Linked DNA regions of Homo sapiens: region 1 is linked to region 2. Evidence: promoter capture Hi-C in 16 types of primary human blood cells and fetal thymus (Javierre and others, 2016). All regions are on one chromosome and are shown on one strand. The core of a region is centred on a gene start or on the middle of the fragment in contact, and the rest is flanking DNA. Distances in the headings are between cores, read along the strand shown. Region 1 overlaps LOC105372399 (a long non-coding RNA gene). Region 2 holds the start of CLC (Charcot-Leyden crystal galectin).

Evidence for each region. The method cuts DNA at HindIII sites, captures the fragments that hold promoters and counts their contacts. A CHiCAGO score of 5 or more calls a contact.
Region 1: a contact is called between a fragment that was not itself captured here and the fragment with the promoter of CLC in region 2, in 1 of 17 cell types (megakaryocytes). The highest score is 5.2, in megakaryocytes.

Annotation. Positions count from the first base shown.
Region 1 is chr19:39,553,098-39,556,780 of GRCh38, forward strand. LOC105372399 (a long non-coding RNA gene) reads left to right here. Exons shown (of 3, transcript XR_935966.3): 2 at 49-259; 3 at 2,143-2,587. Among named protein-coding and RNA genes, the nearest start is that of EID2, 15 kb to the left of the region's middle. RefSeq lists a silencer at 2,880-2,939. The HindIII fragment of the contact is 751 bases long and covers 1,343-2,093 here.
Region 2 is chr19:39,736,037-39,739,383 of GRCh38, forward strand. CLC (Charcot-Leyden crystal galectin) reads right to left here and starts at 1,993. Exons shown (of 4, transcript NM_001828.6): 1 at 1,902-1,993. The coding sequence starts at 1,916. The HindIII fragment of the contact is 8,050 bases long and covers 1-3,347 here.

The DNA.
Region 1 (3,683 bases), core at 468-2,967, 180 kb before region 2:
CCCCACAAGGGAAGGACCTGCCCAACACACCGTGTGCTTTGCCCTCAGCAAGGAGCCACAGCTGCAGGTGGATTTCCACACCGGGATGGATGAGGACTCAGACATCGCTTTCCATTTCCGAGTGCACTTTGGTCATTGTGTGGCCATGAACAGCCATGAGTGGGGGGTCTGGAAGTGTGAGGTGAAATCTGACAATATGCCCTTTGAGGGTGGCCAATCATTTGACCTGCGCATCTGAGTGCTGGACAAGGAGGACCAGGTGAGCACCCCAGGAGCTCCCAGCATGCAGCCTCTGTGGACTCCCAGAGCAGGAGGTAGCTCTCCCTGCCCTGGCCCCACCAGTCCCTCGGGACCCATCTCCCATAACGACTCCTGCCCCAGGCTTTTCATCACAGAGCACCCTCTGCTTGCACTGCCACCCTCAGCTCTTTCCCAAATCTGACCAAGGTCAAGGTTGGTTCACTTGCCATTTCCCCCAAGGTGGAGAATCATTTCCATAGCTGTCATTTCTGCTCATGCTGTTATTTACATTTTCATGTGGCCAAATAGACAAAATACATGTATGAATCAAATTATTTTAGTCAGTCAAAAATTAACTCTTCCTTTCACTCCCGAACCTCACTCCTACTCCCCAGAACAACACTACCAGCTTCTCTGCTCTCCTTCCAGAGATAATCTACCATTAGAGAACCGTATATTTCCTCTTCCTCATTTGTATAATATGCTTTCATTCCTTTTTGTATATATGCCTATACACATATTCATATATACATATATGCATATATGCTTTCATTTCTTTTTAAACAAATGCTGTTATAAATGTCTTTGTACATTACACTTTGGAAACTAGAGTCGATTTATAGTCAAAGAACATATCTTGGAGAATTCATCTATCTATGGTGCTGCTTCATTTTTCTTTTTTTTTTTTTTGAGATGGAGTTTCGCTCTTGTTGCTCAGGCTGGAGTGCAATGGCGCAATCTCAGCTCACTGCAACCTCCACCTCACAGGTCCAAGCGATTCTCCTGCCTCAGCCTCCCAAGTAGCTGGGATTAAAGAGATGCACCACCACGCCTGGTTAATTTTTTGTATTTTTAGTATAGATGGGGTTTCTCCATGTTGGTCTGGCTGGTCTCGAACTCCTGACCTTAGGTAATCTGCCCGCCTTGGCCTCCCAAAGTGCTGGCATTACAGGCATGAGCCACTGCGCTTGGCCTGCTGCTTCATTTTTTAAAGATTGCATAATATGCCAGTAGAAGGATGATCCAAAATGATTGAACTTGACCGTTTTGATGGTTACTGCGTGGTTTTTAGTATTTTGCTCTCACAAAGGGTGCTGTATTAAGCTTTCTAATCAACTCTTTTGTAATTATCAACCTACCAATACTTACATTGGAGGATACTTGCAAAGACATAAAATAATTGGTTGAAAATTGTGTGAAAAATCTTAAAATTTCATAAATTAATACCTTTAAGATGACTTTCTTCATAGCTACAGCAATACAGATTATATTGAAATTTTCTCACCTTCTCTAACGGGTAGGCCAAAAGGTGAACATTTTATTCAGCTCTAAGTGAGGCATCTGTTCATATGCCTACTATAGGCTGCTAAAATAATATCCTATGTTTTGCAACATCTGTCCTGTTCCTCCTCTCTAAGAACACTTGGGTTTCATTCTTGGCCACCTCCAGCCCAGATCTGGGCTACTCCAAAGAGAAACTGGGCCATCAGCAGTGAATGGGAGTCACAGTTGGTGGAACTTAAAAGTACCCATTCAATAAACATTGTCAAGCACTAACCTCGTGGCAGGCCCTGTGCAAGATGCAGGAATTCAAGGTCAAGAGACACAATCCCTGGCCATGGGGATCTTCCAGGCTAGAGGGGAGATCCAGCAAACAGGGACCACGTGACATAGAGGGGTAGAGCCTCACTGGAAGAATGAGAGGAAACATTGAAAATGCAGTGAGCAACTGTCTCAGATAGCCACAAAATGTAGTCTGTAAACAGAAGTGAGTCTGCCGGGTTTTGATGTATAATTAGGAGTTTTCTGGGTGGGTGTTGTAGGTACTAGGGCAGAGTAGAGAGGAGGCTGAAAGCTTGTTTGGTGAAATACTGTCTTTCTGATGCACTTTTCCTCTTGCAGGTAATGGTAAGTGGCCAACACTGCTACAGCTTTGCCCATCGACTCCTGCCAGGGTCTGTGAAGATGGTGCAAGTGTGGAGAGGTATCCCCCTGACCTCAATGTGTGTCTGAGATTGAGGTGATGACCACACTCCCCACTGTCGAGGAATCTCTCTTTCTACGTGACCATGCGGTTCCCAGAGCCTGCTGACAGCATGATCCCTCCTTACTCCTTCCCCTACACTTGCTCATTAAAACTTCACCAAACTTCACAGGATTTTGGCTTTTGCTTGAAGGGGAAAAAGCAAAAGTGGTCATCACCAAGAGGGCCTGAGGGGTTTCATGGGAGGCATCAAGAAATCAAAGAGAATAAAGCTTCCTGTGGCACAAGGAGTGAGTGACAAGGTCCCTGGAATGTCTGACATGACATTAGGAACAACGTCCATCTATAGCATGTAGTTGACTTCAGAGACTCTGACCCAAAATCCTCTGATTTGGGTCAAACCCAAATCAGAGATTTATCTGACCCATTAATCCTCCTTCCTTCTTGCCCTTTCTCCTTCTGCCATGGGATGATGTGGCACAAAGGCCCTGGCCAGATCCCAGCTCTGTGCTCATGGATTTTCCAGCCTCCAGAATTGTAAGCCAAATAAATGTTTGTTTGTTATAAATCATCCAGTTTGTTATAGCAGCACAATATGGACTTAGATGGTGGTGAAGCACTGTTGCAGGCCTGGAGGACAGAAATCACTGGTATAGGGAGAAATTCTACAAGTTGACCCAGACCCTACCAGGGGCTTACCTCCAGCCCAGTGCCTGAATATGCTGAGGCAAGTGAACCAGGAGGAACTGAGAACAGAATCCAGGCTTCACTGGCTGCCTCTGTGTTGGTGACAGCAGAAAGACGAGTATAGGGTGGTGGCTGTGAGATGGCATTGTGCCATGGGAAGAAGTAGACCAAGAAGTGTTTCCTGGGCACTGAGGAGTGTCTTCTATCTCATGGTGGCCTCTTTACCAGCACAGCTGACCAGTGCATGGGTCCCTCTACCTCTCAAGATACAGGCACAGTGATAAGAAATAGTGCCCATGTAGGTCCTGGAGAAAAAAAAAGTCAAACCCAAGATATGTAACCTCCAGAAATGACTTTGGAAGTGCCTTTATTTATTTATTTATTTTCAGATGGAGTTTTGGTCTTGTTGCCCAGGCTGGAGTGCAATGGTGCGATCTCACCTAACCGCAACCTCCACCTCCCGGATTCAAGCAACTCTCCTGCCTCAGCCTCCTAAGTAGCTGGGATTACAGGCATGCACCACCACACCTGGCTAATTTTGTATTTTTAGTAGAGACAGGGTTTCTCCATGTTGGCCAGGCTGGTCTTGAACTCCCGACCTCAGGTGATCCGCCCACCTCGGCCTCCCAAAGTGCTGGGATTATAGACGTGAGCCACCACGCCTGGCCTAGAAGTGCCTATTTTATTGTGTCCAACACTTGACCCCTTTACAAAGCTATTATAACAGTGTGGTGCTTGCTTAAGGAGAGGCACATATACCAATGGAATATAA
Region 2 (3,347 bases), core at 743-3,242:
TGATTTTATGTTTAATTTTATGGGAATACCAAACGATTTTCCAATGTAGCTGTATCATTTTACATCCCTCCAAGCATCGTTTGACTGTTTCAGGTACTCTGCATCTTTTCTAACTTGAGATTGTGAGTTTTATTTTTTATTATCATTTTAACCACCAAAAAAAAAAAGAAAGAAAGAAACAACACTTGTTGAAAGAGAGAGGGAAACGAACAGGAAAGAACAGGAAACCCCTGTGCGTGGGAGGCACATACATCACAATCATCATGGGCAATGGACGTCCTTCCCAGAAGGGGCACACATTGCTGAGAGCACAACCGCAGTACTTGCACAAATGAAGATTGTGGGTCAGGGAAGTTATTGGCTAGAATCTATAAATGGATGGTATTTTTCTTTTTTGAAACAGGGTCACACTGTCACCTAGGCTGGAATGCAGTGGCACCATCAAAACTCACTGCAGGCTGGGCGTGGTGGCTCACGCCTGTAATCTCAGCACTTTGGGAGGCCAAGGTGGGTGCATCACTTGAGGTCAGGAGTTCGAGACCAGCCTGGCCAACATGGAGAAACCCCATCTCTACTGAAAATACAAAAATTAGCCAGGAGTGGTGGCACAAGCCTGTAATCCCAGCTACTCGGGAAGCTGAGGTATGAGAATCGCTTGAACCCGGGAGGTGGAGGTTGCAGTGAGCCGAGATTGCACCACTGCACTCCAGCCTGGGAAACAGAGCGAGACTCTGTCTCAAAAAAAAAAAAAAAAAATTACTGCAGGTTTGAAGGCCTGGGCTTCAGTGAACCTCTTGCATATGCCCCCCAGCAGCTGGAACTACGGTATGCAACACCACATTCAATAAATTTTTAAATTTTTGGAAAGATGAAATCTTGCTATGTCTCCCAGGCTGGTCTACCAGTCCTGGCCTGACATGGGCCTTTCAATTCGGCCACCCAAAGTGCTGAGACTACAGGCCTCAGCAAACATCTTGATGAATATCCACTGTAAGCTCTGCCTTGTACCTTCCTGGTTTTGGGTGATTCAGTCTCTTAAATCAAGTCCCTCAATGTCCTTCTCTAGCATCCTGGCACTCAATGGGAAGGCCAGGCTAGGGTAGGAGACAGGGAGAGACCTGAGGCTGGAGGCAGGAGCCAGTGGTCACTGTGTGCAGATTCCACCTAAGGAACCATCAGCCCCATCGTCTGTTTCTCACCCCCATTCTGCTTGGGAAAAGGCACCTGAGAATTCATGCATTCTGCTCTCATAAATGCTCAGAGATAAGTCCTCGGTAACTCAAGGGCCCCAAGATCCCACAAGTTCTGTCACCGGGGATCCACAGTGATGCACAAGGGAAGTTAGACAGAGTACTGCTATGTGGGGAGGAACCTTCACATGCACAGAAGGCCACATGCATGTTCCCAGTTCAACACCCAGTCACATTCCAGCACACACACTCACAGTCACACAGAGCCGTGCCACTCACTGAGTCACACACACCTGCTCACTGTGCATATAAAGATGCTCATGCACTGGTCCGGCTGTGCTCACACACACACTCACATCACAGTCATGAAGACAAAACACAGTCACCTGATTACAATCACTTACACACCCACCCATATCCTGGAGGGCCATACACATCCCGTCTAAAGTCACATCATTTTTAGCAGAGTTTACTCTCATCAGATACCATCACATGCTCACAGAGGGTCACAATGTTCCAGCATCCACACCCCCTACCCCCCTACCCCAGGAGCATCTCAGATACCATAGCCCTAGGGTCTCTCTTCCACACACCCACAACTCTCAGTAAAGCATTCACAGTAGAAATTTTCATATTTTCATCCCATAAAATCTCCCTCTTCCCTTTTCTGTGTGACCTGAGATTATTGAAGGCTGTGCCTTTTTAACTCACGGGTAGCAGGGACATTGTTGTCTCCTTCTGGGTGGCTCTTCTGAATTGTGTCCAGACTTCTGTGTGAATCTCTGAGCTGCAGAATTTAAATGGCCCCTATCAGCCCTGCCTCTGGCTTTATTCCTGATTCCAAGCCCCTCCCAGGAAGGTTTCCTCACACAGTGAGAAGGGGTGGGGTGTCAGAAACAGACTCAGTCACAACCACACCTGTTTGGAGGCCTGTGCCTGTGATGCAGCAGAAACGACAGTGAGGGAGGTACTGGAGGAGGAAGGGGTCACCAGGGAAATGCACAGATAAAGACGATGGAGTGAGGATGAGTGGTGTGAGTTCCAGCCTCCATGCTTCTCATGAAGCCTTTTCTCCACTGTGCAGAATCTACCAGGAAGGTGTGCGTTCTCCTAACCTGTGCAATGGTAAAAAGCTGGAGATCCTGGGGGCAAGGCACTTGGCTTTGAAAGAAAATCCTCCTCCTCCTTCTCCAGTGGTTCTGGGAGAGCATAGATCTTGATCATTCGCAGGACCTGGGGACAGAAGTAGAGAAAACACTTGTGTCTTCTTTACCCACCCTCAGATCCCTTGGCTCTGCCAGGTGAGAGCCACTCCCACTCTGTCTCTCAGACACCTGGGCTTTAGGTACGCCCTCTTATTTCCCTATTTCTTTTCATGTGAATCAAAATCTGAGGCTGTCGTTCTCCTGCAGATTCTTGGAGAAAGGTGAGATTTCTCACTCATAAGTGGGAGCTAAGCGATGAGGATGCATTAGCATTAATATTAGTTGTGCTTGACCCGACAATAAATTCCACTTTCCCTGATCTAAAACCTTGACAATTCATTTCCAAGCATGCACTCCAAGATTCTGCTCATATAAATCAGCACAATCACACAGTTCTTTTGGTATATAACGTATTTCCTTAAGATTAATTTGTAATGTCATCCCACTGCATTCCTTGGGTTTTGACTCTGGGTATGGACATGGAAGCAATGAAAAGGGTCAGAGGCCACAATTAAGGAGCTTTGGAAACCCCGTTCTAGGCAACCACCCTCACACCCTGCCCAGAACTGTAGCTTGTAAGAAATTACCACAGAAGGGAAAGAGGAACTGCTTTTCCTTGCAACAGATATGCAATAGAATTTTGAGTAATATCCCAGCTATTCATCTGAACTGGGGAAGAAATATCAGTTCAGGGCGTCTGGCCACCTAGTAAGCTGTGGATAAAGATGTTGATGTTATTTACTTCTCAGGCATTCCAGCAATCCTTTCAGTGATGCAGAGAGATTGATCTTCTTTAACTTCCATATCCTCTGCACAATAGCCCATACTTCTGCTGGTTGCAACTATTTCTTCAGAAATCCATTATGCCCTACGACTTGCTTTCAGTCTTTCTTTTCAACTACATCTTTCCAAGCACACACTGTTCCCCCGAAAAACTTTAGGTTTTGTGTAT